7 separate regions of the Homo sapiens genome follow, and all the other regions are linked to region 4. Evidence: promoter capture Hi-C in 16 types of primary human blood cells and fetal thymus (Javierre and others, 2016). All regions are on one chromosome and are shown on one strand. Each heading gives the region's core, a stretch centred on a gene start or on the middle of the fragment in contact. The rest is flanking DNA. Distances are from core to core; before and after follow the strand shown.

Region 1 (2,895 bases), core at 39-2,538, about 20 Mb before region 4:
TCTATTCTTAAGGTGTCTTAAAATAATTGTAGAATCAAGAACATTATATTTTTAAGAGATAGGAGAATGTTCCAGGTAATTAAAAGAAAGAATTCAGTGAAATTTTATAACCATGTAGATGTTTGGGTTCAACTTTTACATGCTTTAAAGTACAGATGAAAAATTTTATAGCAATTTCCTAGTCAATTTTTTAATACAGTTAAATATTATAACCAAATGATATAAATTGTTTTGTTTACCCCTTCATAAGAAGATTTTGAACTAACAAAGGAAAAAGCAAAGAGCAAGGAATTTTGACATGGTTCTCTTTAAGAATCTCTGTGATGGGGCAAGGATTCCTAAAAGCATCAGGATAGCCAAAGGGCTATCAATAGTGACTCTTACAAGAATTTGTCATTTCAGGATATGTCCAAGAAATATAAAAATCATCTCTAAGGCTAGTGTGTTCAAAAATTGTTGTCATATACTTAGAAAAATTGATGCATGAAGTGGGTGGGTTTTATTTAGGGATGGAAATTAAGGAGATGATTATGTTGGGCTTGGGTATATAAGAAATGGATTCTCTGGAATAAGGGCTTAACCAAAATATAAAAGTTGTCTGATGAAATTACCCAGTAGGGCTGGGCGCAGTGGCTCATGCCTGTAATCCCAACACTTCGGGAGGCCGAGGTGGGCGGATCACTTGAGGTCAGGAGTTCAAAACCAGCCTGGCCAACATGTTGAAAACCCACCTCTACTAAAAATACAAAAACAAAATTAGCAGGACGTGATGGCACGTGCCTATGATCCCAGCTACTTGGGAGGCTGAGCCATGAGAATCGCTTGAACCCTGGAGGCAGAGGTGGTGGTGAGCCAAGATTACACCACTGCACTTTAGCCTGGGTGACAGAGCAAGACTCCATCTCAAAAAAAAAAAAAAAATACCCAATAGAACTTCTATCTTTTAGTAGGGGAAGCTGTTTTGGGAAAAGATAACTCATGATGATTGTATACTGTTATGCCAAAAAGAGGCAGGAAGTGTTATCCTCAGAAGAAAATAGTGATTCCATTTGTGGATTAATATAGTGACTGTAAGATAAGACATTCTCAAGAAATGAGAGGGTTGCCTTTACCTGTTAGTTTCAGGAGTGAAATGTACTTTATCCTATGTAAGCATTGAGAACTCTAACCTCTTTTTCTTTTTTTAGATCTTAAAAGTAGGCTACAGGACCATGTTCCAACTTATACTTTGTTGTTAAACTTTATTGTGTTTAATTATTTTAAAATCGTATAATGTTGTTTTTTTCTTAGTAAACTTTGTTCTTCGAAATATGTTTATATTACACTAAGACAGGAGGAAGTATTTATGAGGAATTAGTTATTGGTCATCACTTCTAATTCCTGATGATAATATGAGATATTTCACATTGTGTGTATGTCCCAGTTTTAGTTTTTCCATGTTTGTTTATAAATATGTCTAAGATGGTTTTTCTTCTGTTGAAATTTAAGTTTTCCTCAGGATTGCTTCACTTAAAACATCAAAGAGAAAAAAGTTGTACTTATGTTCTAAAACTTGTATTATTTAGGACTATTGAAGCAAACAAAAGTCAGGATATCACAAATCTGCAAGATGTCAGAGCTAAATCCTACATTTTCAGAATGATGATGGGATCATAAGTCCCATTTCATTTTTATGATTTGGCTTCTACGTTATGAATATTTCAATATCTCTCCCATGCCAAAACACAAAATCACACACCCATGCACTCCAATTTGTTTCTTACTTTGGTAATTTGTGACTACATATTGACACTGACCTAGAAATGTTTCTGTTGCTGTTTTAAATCTCATGTCAGTGGAGAAGAAATTGAAATCTGGTTTGCACATTTGTGTCTGGTTTTCTGTAATTGTCTAAAATCTGACATTGTCCCAGAAACGCTGATTGGGAAGTTATGAGGCAGTATTGTGCCCAAGACTGATTTTAATAGTTTTTAGGAGAGAAAAAGTTCTCACTCTACACTATTTTCCATGTTTTTCTATACCTCAAAAAGTTAAACTCAGTTTAACCCAACTTTATACCATACAAGTAATAATAGCCTTAGCTCTGAGCCTAAATAAAATTTGCCAAATAAAAATGATAATTATGATCCATTTCCACATACTCCTCATGAGAGCTTGGTCAAGTCCTCAGAAGCAGCATTGTGTTCCAATATATCTTTATCAAACAGTGTGCTCAGCAACAAGGACAGGAGAGAACACTCAGTTTCTTTAATTTTAACACCTTGTTGATTCAAAAACATTTAACAGGCATTTGAAAAGAATTTCAAAACAATTAACATTTGTTTCTAATACATTTAAAAAATAATGCCTTTTAAAATGTGGGTAGAACTTTTTTTATTAACATGGCTTTAATTTATAGCAACCATTTGTTACCTAATCACAGTAACACAACAAAATAATTAGTGTATCAGCTTTGAAGATCTCATTTCACAAAAGCTAAAAAACACGTTATGATATATCCATTACTCAAACTCATAAGCCCTTTTGCATGCATTGGGCATAGATTTCATGGAAAATCAAAAGCATTTAGTCTACTTTCTGACATTTTCATCTGTTCTTTGAACTACCTTAATAAAAAAAAATTGTTGCCCTTATGTAGGGTCAAGTGACGTTTGTCTGTCTGAAAATTTCCTTGGATCAGCTTATTTCTGTGTAACTTATGTCTTTGTTATACAGCTATTTGCCTTTTTAACTGATTTTTAACAGGATACTTTACCTTGGGACTTGTAACACTTAATGTAAGCTTATAAAATCCACATGAACAATAGTAAGTAATGGGGAGACTACCAGGTTTCTCAGCCTTTACAAACAATTTGATTTAAAGATTTATGAAATACTGATTTCTACCAACTGCAT
Region 2 (3,088 bases), core at 581-3,080, about 18 Mb before region 4:
CTTAAACATTGGCTTACTATAGAAATAAAGATGTTTAAAAATAAACAAAAACTTTTCCACCTCCCAAAGTGCTGGGATTACAGATGCGAGCCACTGCACCTGGCCATAATTATTTTTAATGAAAAAATGGCTAAATGTATGGCATGACTGGGTGTGGCCATCCCAGTATTCATTCTCCCACCAGTATCTTTAAAACATATATATATATATATTTTAAGCTGACATGTAATAATTGTACATATTTCTCAGGTACACAGTGATGTTTTGCTGGGAGCTGTGGCTACGCCTGTAATCCCAGCACTTTGGAAGGCTGAGGCAGGAGGACAGCTTAAACCCACGAGTTTAAGGCCAGCTTGGGCAACATAGTGAGAACCTGTTTCTACAAAAAAATACAAAAATTAGCCAGGTGTGGTAGCACATGCCTGTGGTCCCAGCTACTTGGGAGGCTGAGGCAGGATAATTTCTTGAGCCAAGGAGTTGAGGATGCAGTGAGTAATGAACAAACCACTGCACTCCAGCCTGGGTGACAAAGACCCTGTCTCAAAATCAAAAAGAAACCCACACAGTGCATCAGATCAGGATAACTAGAATATTCATCATCTTCAACACTTATCCATTTTTGTGTATTGGTAACACTCAATATCCTCCTTCTAGTTATCTGAGACTGTAACATTCTTGCCAAGCTCAGGGGCGCGAAGTGCAGGTCAGTAATCCCAGCTACTAAGGGAGGCTGAAATGGGAGATCTTTTGAGCCCAGGAGTTTGAGACCAGCATGGGCAACACTGTGAGACCCTGCCTCAAATAACAATAATAGTAATAATAAAATTGTAAAAAGAAAACAAACAAAAAGAAACTAACATTCTTCAGATAACAAACATATAGCGATGGAAAGCCAATTAGTAGTTGCCAGGGGTCAGCGACACAGTCAGGGAGCAAATACAAAGGAGTAGGGCACATAGGGGAGCAAAGGGATCCTGATGGTATGATACCATCCAAAGTTAATGTAACAAGAAATTGAGATTTAAGAATTCTACTTATGTGTTAAACACAATAAAATTAAAAATAGTAGCATAAGTTATGTTAATGTACAACATTTACAATTTTTTTTTTTTTTTGAGAGAGAGAGAGTCTCACTTTGTCACCCAGGCTGGAGTGAAGTGGCGCGATCTCGGCTCACTGCAACCTCCACCTCCTGGTTCAAATGATTCTCATGCCTCAGCCTCCCGAGTAGCTGGGATTACAGGTGTGTACCACCACACCTGGCTAATTTTTGTATTTTTAGTAGAAGTGGGGTTTCACCAGGTTGCCCAGGCTGGTCTCGAACTCCTGGCCTCAAGTGATGCACCCACCTCGGCCTCCCAATGTGCTGGGATTACAGGCGTGAGTCACAATGACTGGCCTTAAAAGTAAGGAATAATCTTAAATTACTGTAAAAGGTTCCTCCCCAGAGCCCCATCCTCCCAAAGAATCAAAGCTAAGCATCACCTGTAAGATATGATCTCCTTTAGATGATTGGTTAAGAGTTTTCCTCCCACATTTATCCTGCAAGGGGAGAACTCAAATTTAATTATCGCACATATCATTCTGTTTAATCTTTAGAAACAACATGAAAATTAAATACAACTCACCGAATAATTGCTTCTTTTTTCTTTTTACTTCTACAATAAGGAACTATATGTGTAAAGGAATATCCACTATCAACAATGATACAGCATAATTCGGAAGGATTATCTCGGAAATACCTATGTGCACTGAGAGCCCCAGCTATTTAAAAAAAGATAAAAAAGTGAACAAAAATATAACACTAATTTAAAGCAATTAAAAAGGTAGGAAACAAAGACAAGCACCAAGACAAAAATGTTCCCTTTATTACAAGAAAAATGTTAATTTATAATACTATTCATAACTGTCAAAAGATCTTTATTGTGTTTATACTTTAAAACACCACACTTACATGGTAAACATAATAAAAATTTGGTATCCGTTTTTAAAGGTAAATATTCACTCCATAGTTTAAAAGAATTACTACAACAGCAGCTCATTTTTACTGATCATTTATTACATGCCAGACTCTATTCTAAAATCTGTATAATGAGTGTGTGTGTTAATACTCAAAACAATTCCATTTTACAGATAAGGAACCTGAAGCTCAGAGAAGTAAAGTAATGTGCTCAAAGCCACACAGTTAGGAAGTACCAGAGCCAGGATTCAAACCTAGGCAGTAGGTTGAGACCTCAGAACTATTGACATTGGGGGTTGGATAACTCCTTGTTGTAGAGGGCTTTCCTATGCGTTGTAGGATGTTTAACAGCATCTTGGCCTCTACCCATGAGATGCCAGTAGCACCTTCCCGGTGGTAATGATCATGGCACACTGCAACCTCCACCTCCCGGGCTCAAGTGATCCTCTTGCCTCAGCCTCTCCAGTAGCTGGGACTGTACACATGCACCACCATGCCTGGTTAATTTTTTAATTTTCTTTTGTAGAGATGGAGTCTCACTATGTTGACCATCTAGCCTAAAGTGGTCCTGCTGCCTTGGCCTCCCAAAGTTCTGGGATTACAGGCATGAGCCACTACACCTGGTTGAGATTGTGCCCTTAACCACTGCCCATACTGCTGCTTATATGGACTTAAATTCTGAAAGTTAAATATTTAAATACTTTCATTGTACCCAACCATGTCATGTAATCTAAGCCTGTAATACACTTGCTTCTAGATGATATTTACAGATTGTTCTCCCTCACACTGGCAGCCTGAGCTACTAACATTATTTCAAACAATAAGAATTCGGCCTGGAGCCGTGGCTTATGCCAATAATCCCAGCACTATGGGAGGCCAAGGCGGGAAGATGACTTCAGTCCAGGAGTTCGAGACCAGCCTAGGCAACAAAATGAGACCCTGTCTCTACAAAAAATAAATAAATCAGCCAGATGTGGCAGCACATACCTGTGGTCCCAGCTACTTGGGAGGCTGAGGCGGGAGGATCCCTTGAGCCCAGGAGGTGGAGGCTACAGTGAGCCATGTTTGTGCCACCACACTCTAGCCTGGGCAACAGAGCAAGACCCTGACTTAACAAAAACAAACAAA
Region 3 (3,037 bases), core at 386-2,885, about 16 Mb before region 4:
TGTCTGGTTCTGGATGGGAGTAATACTTACCTTGCAGAGTCTATGAGAACTCAATGAGATAATGTCTAAAAGTCTACAGAAGATGTTACCTAAAAAAAGTTAGCATTGGCCGGGCGAGGTGGCTCACGCCTGTAATCCCAGCACTTTGGGAGGCCGAGGCGGGCAGATCACGGGGTCAGGAGATCGAGACCATCCTGGCTAACACGGTGAAACCCCGTCTCTACTAAAAATACAAAAAATTAGCCGGGCGAGGTGGCGGGCGCCTGTAGTCCCAGCTACTGAGGAGACTGAGGCAGGAGAATGGCGTGAACCCAGGAGGCAGAGCTTGCAGTGAGCCGAGATCATGCCACTGCACTCCAGCCTGGGCGACAGAGCAAGACTCCGTCTCAAAAAAAAAAAAAAACAAAAAAACAAAAGTTAGCATTGAGGCTGCGGCATCACGGCACTCTCTAAGCAACCCTATCCCAGACCCAGCCCTTCTGGCCCAACTAAAGTCCTACAGTCCCAGGAAGAATTCCAGAGTGGAGGGCACAGGAAGGGAAGTAGTGACAGATAAAGTTAAAAAAGTACACTAGCACCTGATTGTCCAGGGCCTCACATACCAGACTGAGGAGTCTGATCTTATGTAGACAGAGGTAGTCACTGAAGGGTCTGGACTTTCTCTCTCTCTTTTTTGGTTAATTCAACTTTATGGTGCTTTTCTAATTTAAAAATCCTTTGTCATGAAAAAGTCAAATATTATGTAAAAATATATGACTGTAGTGAATCTTCCTATTCCCTTCCCCCAGCACCGGGTAATACCGTGACCCTTTGCTGCACATTTTTTCAGCTGGAACAGCTGGTACCCTTCACCATGGGGCTGCACATGCTCGTGGCCCAGAACTCACAGAAGTTGATCTAGAAGATACAGTGGTAACTGAAGGAGCTGCAGGCCCAGCTCCTACCCCATGTGGGAGCTGGTGACCTTCAGAATGTAATGACTGTTGCTCCACTTCTGCCTTCCAAACTGCACACATTTCTCTTATAGCTAGCCCTAACCCAAAACTATGCAGGGAAAGGAATCTAGGAAATGTGGTTCTAGCCTAGCTAAGTTGACATGGTAAAAAAAACACCACTGGGCTTTGCAGGCACCGCTGCTGCCAGGAGCCCTGTGCTATCAGCCATGGTCAACCCCACCGTGTTCTTTGACACGGAGCCCTTGGGCCGCATCTCCTTTGAGCTGTTTGCAGACAAGTTTCCAAAGACAGCAGGAAACTTTCATGCTCTGAGCACTGGAGAGAAAGGATTTGGCTATAAGGGTTCCTGCTTTCACAGAATTGTTCCAGGGTTTATGTGTCAGGGTGGAGACTTCACATGCCATGATGGCACTGGTGGCAAGTCCATCTACAGGGAGAAATTTGATGACAAGAACTTCATCCGGAAGCATACAGTTTCTGGCATCTTGTCCATGGCAAATGCTGGACCCAACGCAAACAGTTCCCAGTTTTTCATCTGTGCTGCCAAGACTGAGTGGTTGGATGGCAAGCATGTGGTCTTCAGCAAGGTGAAAGAAGGCATGAATATTGTGGAGACCATGGAGTGCTTTGGGTCCAGGAATGGCAAGACCAGTAAGAAGATCACCATTGCTGACTGTGGGCAACTCTAATAAGTTTGACTTGTGTTTTATCTTAACCACCAGACCATTCCTTCTGTAGCTCAGGAGAGCACCCTCCACCCCATTTGCTCGCAGTATCCTAGAATCTTTGTGCTCTCACTGCAGTTCCCTTTGGGTTCTATGTTTTCCTTGTTCCTTTCCATGCCTAGCTAGATTGCAGAGTTAAGTTTATGATTATGAAATAAAAACTAATTAACAACAGCAACAAAAAAAGTACCAGAGTCTATCGGTTGTCAACATGGCATCAATGAACACCTCTTGTAATCATATTTAACTTCCAGACAAAAACTAAAGAGCAAAATCAGACTTCTACCTAACATGAAGCAGCTGTCCCTTGGACAATTGTGAACAAGCTAATTCTACCCAAAAGAGGATACAAAATCCTTTTATCCGTCTTTAGGTGATGTTATTGCAGCAGGTATGGACTAAGACAAGGGGGTTGGCCTCCTTAACATTCAAGAGGCTCTCGGCCTCCAACCTGACACAAGTAGGGAAATTGCCTGAAGGACCATAACTCTCCACTGTGGAGATTCAAATCTGCCTCCCGGGTTCAAGCAATTCTCCTGCCTCAGCCTCCGGAGTAGCTGGGATTACAGGCACGCGCCACCATGCCCGGCTAATTTTGTATTTTTAGTAGAGATGGGGTTTCTCCATGTTGGTCAGTCTGGTCTCGAACTCCCAACCTCAGGTGATCCACCTGCCTCGGCCTCCCAAAGTGGACAGTAGGTTTTAAGAAGAATCAGCAGATCCCGCCAGGCAACCACCTCAGGTGAGGCCATTACAGATTTCACAGGGACGAGGAACATAACCTCCTCAGACAGGAGAGGAAGGGCTTCTTTGACTGACAAGGAGGCTCAACAGAATTTAGGGGTTCTGGCTGGGCATGGTGGCTCACGCCTATAATCCCAGAACTTTGGGAAGCCGAGGTAGGTGGATCTCTTGAGTCCAGGAGTTAAAAACCAGCCTGGACAACATGGTGAAACCCTGTCTCTTAAAAAAAAAAAAAAAAAAAAGCCAGGCATAGTGGCATGCCCCTGCAGTCCCAGCTACGCAAGAGGCTGAGGAGGGAGGATCACTTGAGCCTGGGAAGCAGAGGTAGCAGTGAGCCGAGATCGCGCCATTGTACTCCAGCCTAAGCAACAGTTAGAGATCTTGTCTCAAAAAAGAAAAAAAAAAAGAATATGGGGGTTCATGGTCCTAGTGGAATCATAATCTGCCCAGGTGTCACTATTCCAAAATTTTGGGTCTCAAAACATTGCCCTAACTTTAAACACTATGAGATTGGGAATTCAATTTGCATTGTAATTCAGAATTAGATTTTGAGTTTGATTTTTAGAAAGTACAGTCTTGCAGATACAGCAAAGCAGTCAAGGCGACCAGGTG
Region 4 (3,060 bases), core at 17-2,516:
TTTAAATGAAATAGTGACTATCCGAATACCATCCTAGTCCAAGATACAATCATCTGTTGTACTACTGAGGTAGTCTCCTAACTGGCCTCTCAGCTTCAGCTTTTGCCCTAGTCTATTCTTCAAATAATTCACAGTTATCTTTTCAAATGTGAATTAGGTCACTATGTTGCCTAAATAATCCCAAGGGTTTCCGTCACACTTAAAATCCAAAATCCTTCCAAGGCCTAGAAAGGCCTGTGCCATCTGGCCTCTGCTTGCCTCCCGTCCTGCACCTGCAGCCCCTCACCTGGCTAGAGCCAAGCCTAGCCTGCGGTTCCCACCGCCTGCAACCCCTCCCTGTGGCTCTGCAGCTAGTGCCTTCTCATGTTCCTGACCTCCTAAATTGAGGCAGCCTCCTTACACAATCCCTACCACATTACACTGTTTTTATTTTCTACTTCATTACCACCACTTGAAATTATCTTTATTAACTGTTGAGTAATCTTCCACCACATGCTGGCATTTATAAAACCTGTGAGAGCACTGCTCCCCTAGTTTCCCTAGCGTCAATTATTATGGAATTACTAGATGAAGGAACTCCCCTGCCCTGTTTCCTGCTTTCTTTAAATTGTGGACATACACAAGCACCCAAAGAAAGAGTGATCCTGATTCCAAAGAACATCCCCACCCCACCCCTCAACTAATCCGACCCCTCCTCGGTTTCCCAGCGGGCCGCCCCGCCTCCGCCGCCACGCACCTGGTTCTGCTGGCTTCCACCAGGGGGCTCGCTTCGTCTGCCGGGACCTTCTCCTCCGCCTCCCTTCCCGCCCCGCCTACCCCACCACCCACCTGCTTCCCACTCTGCTTCCACTAGGGGGCGCGTCTCTGAGGGCAGGGCCTCCGTCTCCGACGCTGACTTCCTCAGCGCAGCCAGCACTGTCTCCGGTGGCAAGTCGACCAGCTCCTCCCACACGGATTCTGTGTAGAAATCCACGGTATGTGCATTGGAAATGGACAGGGCATCCCTCAGGAACTGCAGCAGTCCCTGCAACTTGGCACGCAGCGTGGGCAGGTCCGGGGTCACCGGGAGAGGGCAAGAAGCCGCCATGACGCTCACCCTCCGAGGCTGTAGGTGGCGCAAACATGGCCGTGAGGCGCCAGCTCGGCCCAAATTAGCACAGGCAGGCTCAGTAGAGCTCCGAGCCGGATTCCTTCTGAGCGATTGATTGCTTCGGCTTGGTGACGTATTTTGTGGGCGTCCGTCGTGGTCTTCTGATGACGCAGTTAGTCGGCTGCAATGGCGCCGGTGAGGCGGTCCGCGAAGTGGCGGCCTGGTGGTATTGAGGCGCGTGGTGAAGGGGTTTCCACTGTCGGGTACAGGAATAAGAATGTGAGACAGAAGACATGGCGGCCTAACCACCCGCAAGCCTTCGTGGGGAGCGTTCGCGAGGGTATGTAAGAAGGCAACCATTTGCAAATCCTCAGGCTTGCTAAGTTTTAGGATATAAGATTCGCTGAAGCTTGGAAGAAGGATTTAGGAACCAGACCCGGTCCTACTTGGGGCAAGGGAATTCATTCCTGAGCCCGCTAAAGCTGTGAGCTTCGCAGAGCTCTAGATAGGAAGACGGAGCAGTGTTGCTATTATTTAAACGTCTTTTCTGACGTAACCCTGTATTTCATCAGAACTTTTTTCCTATATTTTTCCTGAGAAACTGAGCAGAGAGAGTCTATGACCCTGTGAACTCTTGCGCATGTGGTAAGGTAAAGGATAGAGAGGAGGACAGGGCCAGAAACACTGCTCCGAATTCTTCCTTATTACAAATACCCGAGGCCCTCCAGCCTTCGCTTTAATTTGTGTTTGTCATTTTGTATTGCTGTCTGTAAGGTCTCTTAGATCCCACTTGGAATATATAAATGTTAAATTCAGTCTTCCGATAATTGCTAGCTTTTCAGACAACCATACACTGTCTTTTTCTTTCGTGTTGAAACATTTTCGAAAACATGTAGTTTGTCCAAGATACTAGATGTGGCATTTTCTTTCCTATTTTTTAAGCATTTATTGAAGGCTCAGATTAAGTGTTTTAGATGAACTAAGGAATTTGTTTTGATTTGTGAATACAGCTGTAAACTCAAGTTGTGCAACAGTCTGAACTGGTCAGTTTTTCTTTGAGATTCTTACTTGGATTTCCGCATGACTGTTAGCCTGGTCTTTTTGCAAAGGGCCAACTTACTATGCAATCCATCAGCTTAAATTTGTTGCTTGAAATAATTTTTTAAAGCAAAATATAATACTAGAATCTGAATGTGATGACGTAAAAAAAGTTTTCATTTGTAATTAACAGCTCCATTCTTCGTTCAACTTCTTTTCTCTGAAAGTAATTTTGGATGATATTCCTCAATGTAGGACAAGGCTTTGCTTTTCGAAGAAAACTGAAAATACAGCAAAGTTACAAGAAATTGCTACGGAAGGAAAAGAAGGCTCAAACGTCACTGGAATCTCAATTCACAGATCGATACCCAGATAATCTGAAACATCTCTATTTAGCTGAAGAGGAAAGACATAGGAAGCAAGCAAGAAAAGTCGACCATCCTTTGTCAGAACAAGTTCACCAGCCGTTGCTTGAAGAACAGTGTAGCATTGACGAGCCTTTATTTGAAGATCAGTGTAGCTTTGACCAGCCTCAGCCAGAAGAACAATGTATTAAAACAGTAAAGTATGTATTTTCTTCATTTGAAATCCTTTAAGTGTTGTTTTATTATTTAAAAGTACTATAGGATAATTTATATAGGAATTGTATTTTTTCTTATTTAACACATTTTAGAAGTCACGGTTTAATTAGGGAAACATTTTCATGGAGGCTCTATTTTTAGCTTCAATAACTGAATTAGGCTGGTTTAGCCTAATTGACAAAGTAACGTAATGGGAATTAAGAGCTCTGGAATTTGGGTTTCTTCCTCTCAAGTACAGGTGGTAACTTGATTGGACCATATGTTATGACTATATTTTTGAAAAATAACTTCTGAGAGGTGTTATAATTTTAGTCATTAACAGTATGGGTTCTAGAGCCAGACTCAACATGT
Region 5 (2,855 bases), core at 140-2,639, about 18 Mb before region 4:
ACTTCAAAGAGAATTAGAGGTATTATTAGGCCCCCATACTAGGTTTTATTATTGAATGCATTAAACATATATAAAACCATTTTGTAGTTATGAAAATGTTATTACAATTATTTCAAAACAATTTTTTCTATACATTTTATTTCATACATTTAAAAATATTACTCTAAGTAAATAAATGAATAAATAACTTCTGCCCATGAGGGAGGAACAAAGAGTGAATCTGCCCTCTTGCTTTTAACAACTAGAAAACTGAACAAAATGTATTAAACACATTTTTTCAGACATTGAACAGGCAGCAAGAGCCTTTGACCCCAGTAAGAAAGAGAACAAGAGAACCAGGATTGCCCCAGAGGCACATTCCAAACTACAGAGCATAGAGCAGAATTCCAAGTAGCTATCTAGCTGAATTGAGAAGCTGGAGGGACAAACTGGCATTCAAGAATGCGGAGGTAGATGAAAGTTCTGAGATACAATTTCAAAGTGAATGAAGCTATGCTGAAGAAAATGCAAACTGGTCCCCTTCATGCTCTGTTCCCTGGTCCCACACATGCTTATGCATAGTGTGACACTCCACCAGGTCTGGCAAGAACCAAACTAGAGAGCTATCAGTTGAATAGTTTCAAAGTTCACACAAGGCTGCAAATCATTTGATATCTCATCAGCCAGAGTAGTGAGTCTTCACTGACCACTAAGACAATCAGCAGAAACCTGTAAGAACCATGCCTTAATAGTGGGGTAAGCCACCCTTAGAGTAAAAGCTAATCTAAATCCACTCTAAAATCAATTATCAAATGACCAAAGTAATCATAAATTACTAAACAGCCTACCAGAACAAAACCCAATAGTCATGAAAGACACATAACATGCACAAAAAAATTCAGATACTAAACAATGTAACATTCACAATATTCAGCAGGCAATCAACAACTATCAGACATGCCAAGAAGCAAGACGATGTGACTTATACAACAGTAGACCCCAACCCCTAGGCCGCCAGATCAGTACCAGTCCACGGCCTATTAGGAACCGGGCTGCAGAGCAGGAGGTGAGCGGTAGGCGAGCAAGCATTACTGCCTAAGCTCCGCCTCCTCTCAGATAGGTGGCAGCAATAGATTCTCAAAGGAGCCTGAACCCTACTGTGAACTGCACATGCAAGGGACCTAGGTTGTGTGCTCCTTATGAGAATCTAACTAATGCCTGATGATCTGAGGTAGAAGAGTTTCACCCTGAAACCAAGCCTCCCATCCCCCATCTGTGGAAAAACTGTCTTCCACGAATCCGGTCCCTGGTGCCAAAAAGGTTGGGGACTGCTGCTATACAAAGCTCCAAGAAATTAAATAAACCACACACAGGATAAACACAAAGAAACCCATACATAGATATACCAAATAGCTGAAAATCAGTGATTAAAAGAAAAATCTTAAAAGCAGCCACAGAAAACAAGTAAATTACATATAAGAACAAAGATAAGAATTTCCTCAGACTGGCCAGGCGCGGTGGCTCACGCCTGTAATCCCAGCACTTTGGGAGGCTGAGGTAGGCAGATCACAAGGTCAAAAGATGGAGACCATCCTGGCAAACATGGAGAAACCCCATCTCTACTAAAAATACAAAAATTAACTGGGCATGGTGGTACGCGCCTGTAGTCCCAGCTACTCAGGAGGCTGAGGCAGAAGAATTGCTTGAACCCGGGAGGTGAAGGTTGCAGTAAGCCGAGATCACGCCACTGCACTCCAGCTTGGCGAGGGAGCAAGACTCCATCTCAAAAAAAAAAAAAAAAAAGAATTTCCCCAAATTTGGCAGAAACAACACATGCCAAAGAACAACTGAATGAGGTCTTTAAACTGCTAAACGAAACTGTCAGCCTAGAATTCTACAGGTTGGGGAAAAAACTTTCAAAACTCAATGTGAAATAAAGACATCTTCAGAAAAACAACAGATAATCACTATAAAAACTATTAGAGATGGGAGGATCACTTGAGCCCAGCAGTTCGAGATGAGCCTAGGCAACACAGTAAGACCCCATCTCTACAAAAAATAGAAAAATTATCCAGGTATGGTGTCATCTGACTGTAGTCTCATCTACTCAGGAGGCTGAGGCAGAAGAATCAATTGAGACCAGGAGGTGGAGGCTGCAGTGAGTTGTGATTGCACCACTGCACTCCAGCCCGGGTGACAGAACAAGACCCTCTCTCTAAAACAAAACAAAACAAAACAAAAAAAACTTAAAGTTTTTAAACCAGAATAATAAAAATAAAAAATGATGTGGGTATATAAAATACTTTTCACGTCATAATACCTTTAAAAGATAGCTGATCATTTAAAGCAAAAATAATAAAAATGTATTGTGTTTATAATATATGCAGAAGAAACTGTAACAAGAAAGAACAGGAGGGGAAATATAAGTATATTTTTTAAAGATCCTTACATTATATTTGAGGCAGTACAGTATCATTTGAAGGCAGGTTGTGGTATTTAAAGTTAAAAGATATATACTGTAGACCCTCAAATAATAACAAAATAAAAATAACAACAAAATAATAAAGTGATATAACTAAATTGTAGAGATAAAATTTAGTTAGTAAAAAAAACCCTAAAGTAAACTGAATATAAAAAGAAGCGGAAAAGAGGAAGGAACAAAAAACAAATGTGGCAAATACAAAATAAATAGCAAGATGGTTGACTTAAATCCAACCATATCAATAAATTACATTAAGTGTAAATAATTTAAAATTTCAATTACAAGGCAGAGATTATCAAATTGGATAAAAAAGCAAGACCTAACTATATGCTGCTTACAAAAACCCACTTTAAAAGTATAAAAACACAGGTAAAAGAATGTGAAAGTATACCAA
Region 6 (2,961 bases), core at 178-2,677, about 18 Mb before region 4:
GGTGACCATCCAGAGTTTTTGACATAAGCAACATAAGCAATGGAAAAGGTGGAATTGCTATTAACTAAATCGGAAAATTGGAGAAGACTGCAGGAGGAGCAGGCTTATGGGAGAAGATCAGGAGTTTGTTTTGGATATGTTAAGTTGGATGAAAGTTCGATTTTTTTTTTTTTTTGAGACAGAGTCTCGTTCTGTTGCCCAGGCTGGAGTGCAGTGGCACAATCTCAGCTCACTGCAACCCCTGCCTTCTGGGTTCAAGTGATTCTCCTGCCTCAGCCTCCCGAGTGGCTGGAATTACAGGCAGCCGCCACCATGTTTGGCTAATTTTTTTTTACATTTTTTATTTTTAGTAGAGATGAGGTTTTATCATGTTGGCCAGGCTGGTCTCAAACTCCTGACCTCAAGTGATCCACCTGCCTCAGCTTCCCAAAGTGCTTGGGATTACAGGCCTGAGCCACTGCGCCCAGCCCAAATGTTAGATATTTAATTGGAGATGTCTTCTCTTTTATTTGTGATCTAATTTAGACTATACATGTTTTAGTCTGACAACAATGGAAGTATGTTTGTGGTTATCCTTTGGCTTATGCAATAAACAATTACTGGGAAGCGAATTGTGAGTTGAATTTTCAGGGGTGGATTTTTTGCTATTGTTGTTTTTTTTTATCCTTTTAAGTACATGCACTACAGTAGTCCTCCTCCATGGGCAGCACACTTCAAGACCCCCAGTGGATGCCTGAAACTGCAGATAGTACTGAACGATATGTATATTGTGTTTTTTTCTTTATGTACATCCCTCTGGTAAAGTTTAATTTATAAATTAGTCATGGTCAGAGATTAACAAAAACTAATATGTAATAGAAAAATTGTAACAATATCTGTATATTGTAATAAAAGTTATATGAATGTGATCTCTCTCTTTCTCAAGCTATCGTACTGTACCACAGGTAACTGAGACCGTGGAAAGGGAAATCTTGGGTAAGGGAGGACTACTGTATATAGCAGGTGTCTTTCTCTTTCATATTAATTTCCAACTAAAACCGGATACTGATTCTTGTTGGGTGCTTGGTCTAGGAGATGTTGCAATATTAGCATACTAGAATCCTGGAATCAGAAGGGATTTGTTCCTATCTCAGAGAAGGAAATTATTAAAACATTGACATTTGTGACTTGTCCAAGGTCTCACAGATAGTGTTGAATGGTAAAGTCACTGATCCAGTACCCTTTTCATTGATTTTTCTGTGCTGCCTATTAAGGTGTTTCCTACTCGCCCCCACCCCACCTCAACAGTTTGCTTTTCTTTTTACCCAGTTTTCAACACTACTCTTGTTTTACCATCCTGCTGTAGTATCCCTTAGGAGATTCTTTTATGACTTGAGAATCATTTGACTCTGCGGTCCTTTGAAGTTAGAGGAACATAATGTTTTGACTCAGCATTTCTTGAAAGTTGGGGGATGTCTCAGGCCATTTTATGTTGCTATAAAAGATTATGGGGCTGGGTAATTTATTTTAAAAGACAGGTTTTATTTGTTTATTTATTTATTTATTTTTTTGAGACACAGTCTCACTCTGTTACCCAGGCTGGAGTGCAGTGGTGTGATCTCGGCTCACTGCAAGCTCCGCCTCCCGGGTTCATGCCATTCTCCTGCCTCAGCCTCCCGAGTAGCTGGGACTACAGGCACCCACCACCACCCCCAGCTAAATTTTTTTATTTTTGTAGAGACAGGGTTTCACCGTGTTAGCCAGGATGGTCTCCATCTCCTGACCTCGTGATCTGCCTGCCTTGGCCTCTGAAAGTGCTGGGATTACAGATGTGAGCCACCACGCCCGGCCTATTTATTTATTTTTGAGACAGAGTTTACTCTGTTGCTCAGGCTGGAGAATAGTGGCACAATCTCAGCTCACTGTAACCTCCACCTCTCAGGCTTAAGCAATTCTTATGCCTCAGCCTCCGGAGTAGCTGGGATTACAGTCATGTGCCACCACGCCTGGCTAATTTTTGTATTTTTAGTAGAGATGGGGTTTCACCGTGTTGGCTAGGCTGGTCTCAAGACTCCTGGCCTCAAGTGATCCACCTGCCTTGGCCTCCCAAAGTGCTGGGATTACAGGCGTGAGTCACCACACCCGGCCAAAAAATAGGTTTATTTATAAAGAAAAGAGGTTTATTTAGCTCGTGGTTCTACTGGCTGAGAAGTTCAAGGGCATGGTGCTGGCTTCCAGATAGGGCTTTTATGCTGCATGACAACATAGTGGAGAAGGTAAGGGGAAGTGGACACTTAAAGAGGGCAGAGCCTGAGGGATGTCTTGGCTTTATAACAACCTACGCACGTGAGAACTACTTTATTTTCTGTGAGAACTTACTACTGCAAGAACAATACCAAGCCATTTATGAAGAATCTGCCCCCATGACCCAAACACTTCCTACCTACTAGGCGCCACCTCCCAACACTGTCACATTCGGGATCAGATTTCAACATGAATTTTGGTGGGGACAAATAAACCATATTGAGACTCTAGCGGGAAAACATAATGTCTTTTTTTCTTTTCTTTTTTTGAATAATTTTCCTTTTTTGCAGTATTACACTTTGCTTTAGTACTGCAGTTTAAACACTTTTTAAATAAGTTGATCTCTTATCAATTACATGTGTTTTAAATTCTGCATATTGTATGCTTAGGACAAATAATTTTTTTAACAGTGGGTGTGGCTGGGCACGGTGGTTCACGCCTGTAATCCCAGCACTTTGGGAGGCCAAGGCGGGTAGATCACCTGAGGTCAGGAGTTCGAGACCAGCCTGGCCAATATGGTGAAACCCCATCTCTACTTAAAAATACAAAAAATTAGCCGGGCATGGTGGCGCATGCCTGTAGTCCCAGCTACTCAAGAGGCTGAGGCAGGAGAATTGCTTGAGCCCAGGAGGCGGAGGTTGCAGTGAGCTGAGATTGTGCCCCTGGACTCCAGCCTGG
Region 7 (2,700 bases), core at 146-2,645, about 19 Mb before region 4:
TTGGGTGAGGTGTTCTTTTCACTCCCTTCGGTAAAGGTTTAGAAGACAAATGTATTTTCATTATAAAATAAAACATACCTGTAATCGTTATCAACTAACATTACTGTCCCTCACTACGTACCTGCATCGTGCAAAGATCCTTTCATCCATAATTTCACAGTAAAGCTTATTAGGGATGTTAATACAAAGGAGGTACTGCGTCTATCTATATATCTATATATAGATATATACTTTTTTTTTTTTTTTTTTGAGACGGAGTCTCACTCTGTCTCCCAGGCTGGAGGGCAGTGGCGCGATCTCGGCTCACTACAATCTCCGCCTCCCGGGTTCAAGCAGTTCTCCTGCCTCAGCGTCCAAAGTAGCTGGGACTACAGGCACCCGCCGCCACGCCCGGCTAATTCTTTTGTATTTTAGTAGAGACGGGGTTTCACCTTGTTGCCCAGGCTGGTCGCGAACTCCTGAGCTCAGGCAATCCGCCCGCCTCGGTTTTCCAAAGTGCTGGGATTACAGGTGTGAGCCACCGCGCCTGGCCGGTACTGTGTATATTTTTAAGCCAATTTGACACAAGAGGAAACCAAGGTTGTGCAGCTGGTAACTGGCAGTCTTCACTCAGACTCTAAATTTTGGTATTCTTAACCACTACGCTGTAAATAAAATTGAAAAATAGAGAAGGAGTTTTAAGAAAAATCTTTTAATTTCATGCACAACCGCTGTTAATGTTTGGTGTTTTTCCCATCACTTTAATGTCTACACATAGCATGTTGTTAAATTGTACAGTTATATATACATATATGTACAATTTTAAAAAATAATTTAAAAATATAATTATTTACCCCATTTTACATTCATTCATTCATTCAGCAACTATTTCTTGAGAGTCCTCTGTGGACCAGGTACTGTTCTGGGAGCCAAACGAGAAAGGCAATAATAGTATTAATTAATTATTTGAAAATATTCACAGCCTTCAATTCCTGGGCTAAAGTGAGCCTCCCACCTCAGCCTCCCAAGTAGCTAGGGCTACAGGCATGCACCACCACACCCAGCTCTTTTATTATTATTATTATTATTATTATTATTATTATTATTATTTGTAGAGATGGGATCTTGCTATATTGCCCAGGCTGGTATCAAACTTCTGGACTCAAGCAGTCCTCTTGGCTTGGCCTCCCAAAGTGCTGGGATTACAGGGGTGAGCCACCATGCCCAGACTGGAAATACTTGGTCTGAGATGCTTACATTTTAGTCAAGGAGTGATGTTAAGTAGACAATTGGATATATTGTTGTACAGAGCTCACTGTAGCAGTCTGGGCTGCAGACGTGACTTAAATACACCTAAATACCTCAAGTGTGAGGCATTTGCGACTGGGAAAGAGAGCCAGTAAGGTAGAAACAGACTAGTTATGGCATGGAAGCAGAGCTGGTGGCCAACTATACTGCAAATTCGAGGATAGAGAAGTGGTTGCTGGATCTGACAAGGTGAAGGTCACTGGTGACCTTGCTAAGTACAGTCTAGTTGGAAGAAAGGAAGTGAAATATGCATGGATTGAGGAGGTAATCAGAGTTGAGAAAGTGAACATAACACTTTCAAATTGTTATTGGCATTATCACATCAACATTTTCTGTGTCACCACAGGGTTGTTCTAAATATTTTAATGCCTCCATAGCATTTATAGATTTTTTTATAATAAAATATTGACGTGCCTAATGTTCCATTGGCTTTCAGTAGGCTAATAATTGGTCTTTTTTTTTTAAAAGCCTTTTATGGGTCACAGGGAAATCTAAGAAAGCTGTAGAACTTCTCCCAGAAAGATGCAAAGAAGCTCATCCACACTAAAATGTGCACGTTTCAGAGAGTTAGAAGCCTGCAGTTAACTGAGGGTAGAAGCCCCCACTCAAAGCAATATTTTCCCAACCTGTTGCCAAAATCACCCCCACATCATTGTGCCATTTTCCTTCTCTGCAATTTATTTTTGGTAATGGAGTTAACTGGACAATAAGGAGTGAAGAGAAAAATCAAAGAAACTGAAAGAACTGACACAAGTTATATTGACCATTTATTGTTTGCATTGTTCTTCATTACATGACCCTCACACACTGACTTGACTCTGACTGGCTTAACAATATGTCAATAGAACATGGTGGTTGAGAGCATAGATGCTGGAACCAGGTTGTCTGGAGGTAATCCTGGTTCTGCCATTTATTAGTAGGGTCAGTTACCCTTTCAGAATGACATTTCCGTATATGTAAATGAAGCTAACAAAAGTAGCTACCTCACGGGTGGTGATTATGCAGAGTAAATAAGCTAATGGATAAAAGATGCTTAGAATGTGCCAGACACCATAATTGCGCAAGCTCAGAAATTACTTAACCTTTCTGAGACCCAATTTCCTCATCTATAAAATAGAGATGACAATAATACCAGTCTTTCAAGATACTGTGTTGGTGCATAGAGCATGAAATAAATGTTTGCTAAGTGGATAAATAAATGACCATTTATTCTCTACTACCTGGCTACCTGACAAGTTCCTTAAGGGCTGACACCTTATACTTTTTCAACTTTGTGTCATCAGTTCCCTTGAACATAAGAGTTGTTTAATGAATGTCTGTTGAATTAACAAAGCTTATAATACTTACATTGACCCGGACAAATTTAAGAGTAATATAGTTCCAGCATTGGATGTGAATTGCACCACATGATTT

What was found. The method cuts DNA at HindIII sites, captures the fragments that hold promoters and counts their contacts. A CHiCAGO score of 5 or more calls a contact.
Region 1: a fragment that was not itself captured here is called in contact with the fragment with the promoter of CCDC59 in region 4 in 1 of 17 cell types (activated CD4 T cells); the score reaches 9.0 in activated CD4 T cells.
Region 2: a fragment that was not itself captured here is called in contact with the fragment with the promoter of CCDC59 in region 4 in 5 of 17 cell types (total CD8 T cells, total CD4 T cells, total B cells and 2 more); the score reaches 13.8 in total CD8 T cells.
Region 3: a contact is called between a fragment that was not itself captured here and the fragment with the promoter of CCDC59 in region 4, in 2 of 17 cell types (total CD4 T cells and naive CD4 T cells). The highest score is 8.9, in total CD4 T cells.
Region 5: a contact is called between a fragment that was not itself captured here and the fragment with the promoter of CCDC59 in region 4, in 1 of 17 cell types (total CD4 T cells). The highest score is 6.1, in total CD4 T cells.
Region 6: a contact is called between a fragment that was not itself captured here and the fragment with the promoter of CCDC59 in region 4, in 1 of 17 cell types (non-activated CD4 T cells). The highest score is 6.9, in non-activated CD4 T cells.
Region 7: a fragment that was not itself captured here is called in contact with the fragment with the promoter of CCDC59 in region 4 in 4 of 17 cell types (non-activated CD4 T cells, naive B cells, naive CD4 T cells and 1 more); the score reaches 10.1 in non-activated CD4 T cells.

The regions. Positions count from the first base shown.
Region 1 is chr12:102,070,081-102,072,975 of GRCh38, reverse strand. No RefSeq gene overlaps it. Among named protein-coding and RNA genes, the nearest start is that of WASHC3, 9.5 kb to the right of the region's middle. The HindIII fragment of the contact is 2,992 bases long and covers 1-2,784 here.
Region 2 is chr12:100,208,749-100,211,836 of GRCh38, reverse strand. It overlaps ACTR6 (actin related protein 6), which reads right to left. Exons shown (of 11, transcript NM_022496.5): 5 at 1,629-1,764; 6 at 1,486-1,542. Among named protein-coding and RNA genes, the nearest start is that of ACTR6, 9.5 kb to the right of the region's middle. The HindIII fragment of the contact is 3,656 bases long and covers 3-3,088 here.
Region 3 is chr12:98,589,331-98,592,367 of GRCh38, reverse strand. It overlaps the pseudogene PPIAP8. Among named protein-coding and RNA genes, the nearest start is that of SLC25A3, 2.8 kb to the left of the region's middle. The HindIII fragment of the contact is 4,505 bases long and covers 1-3,037 here.
Region 4 is chr12:82,356,593-82,359,652 of GRCh38, reverse strand. CCDC59 (coiled-coil domain containing 59) reads left to right here and starts at 1,266. Exons shown (of 4, transcript NM_014167.5): 1 at 1,266-1,430; 2 at 2,384-2,693. The coding sequence starts at 1,277. It overlaps METTL25 (methyltransferase like 25), which reads right to left and starts at 1,124. Exons shown (of 12, transcript NM_032230.3): 1 at 829-1,124. The coding sequence starts at 1,087. RefSeq lists enhancers at 336-896, 827-1,386, 897-1,457. The HindIII fragment of the contact is 1,548 bases long and covers 1-1,501 here.
Region 5 is chr12:100,277,558-100,280,412 of GRCh38, reverse strand. The region is part of intron 1 of SCYL2 (SCY1 like pseudokinase 2); the gene reads right to left. It also overlaps a transcript of DEPDC4 not described here. Among named protein-coding and RNA genes, the nearest start is that of SCYL2, 12 kb to the right of the region's middle. The HindIII fragment of the contact is 2,998 bases long and covers 1-2,855 here.
Region 6 is chr12:100,131,831-100,134,791 of GRCh38, reverse strand. All of the region lies in intron 1 of BLTP3B (bridge-like lipid transfer protein family member 3B), which reads left to right. Among named protein-coding and RNA genes, the nearest start is that of BLTP3B, 9.6 kb to the left of the region's middle. The HindIII fragment of the contact is 6,169 bases long and covers 1-2,961 here.
Region 7 is chr12:101,277,312-101,280,011 of GRCh38, reverse strand. No RefSeq gene overlaps it. Among named protein-coding and RNA genes, the nearest start is that of UTP20, 1.4 kb to the left of the region's middle. RefSeq lists an enhancer at 1-208. The HindIII fragment of the contact is 2,455 bases long and covers 168-2,622 here.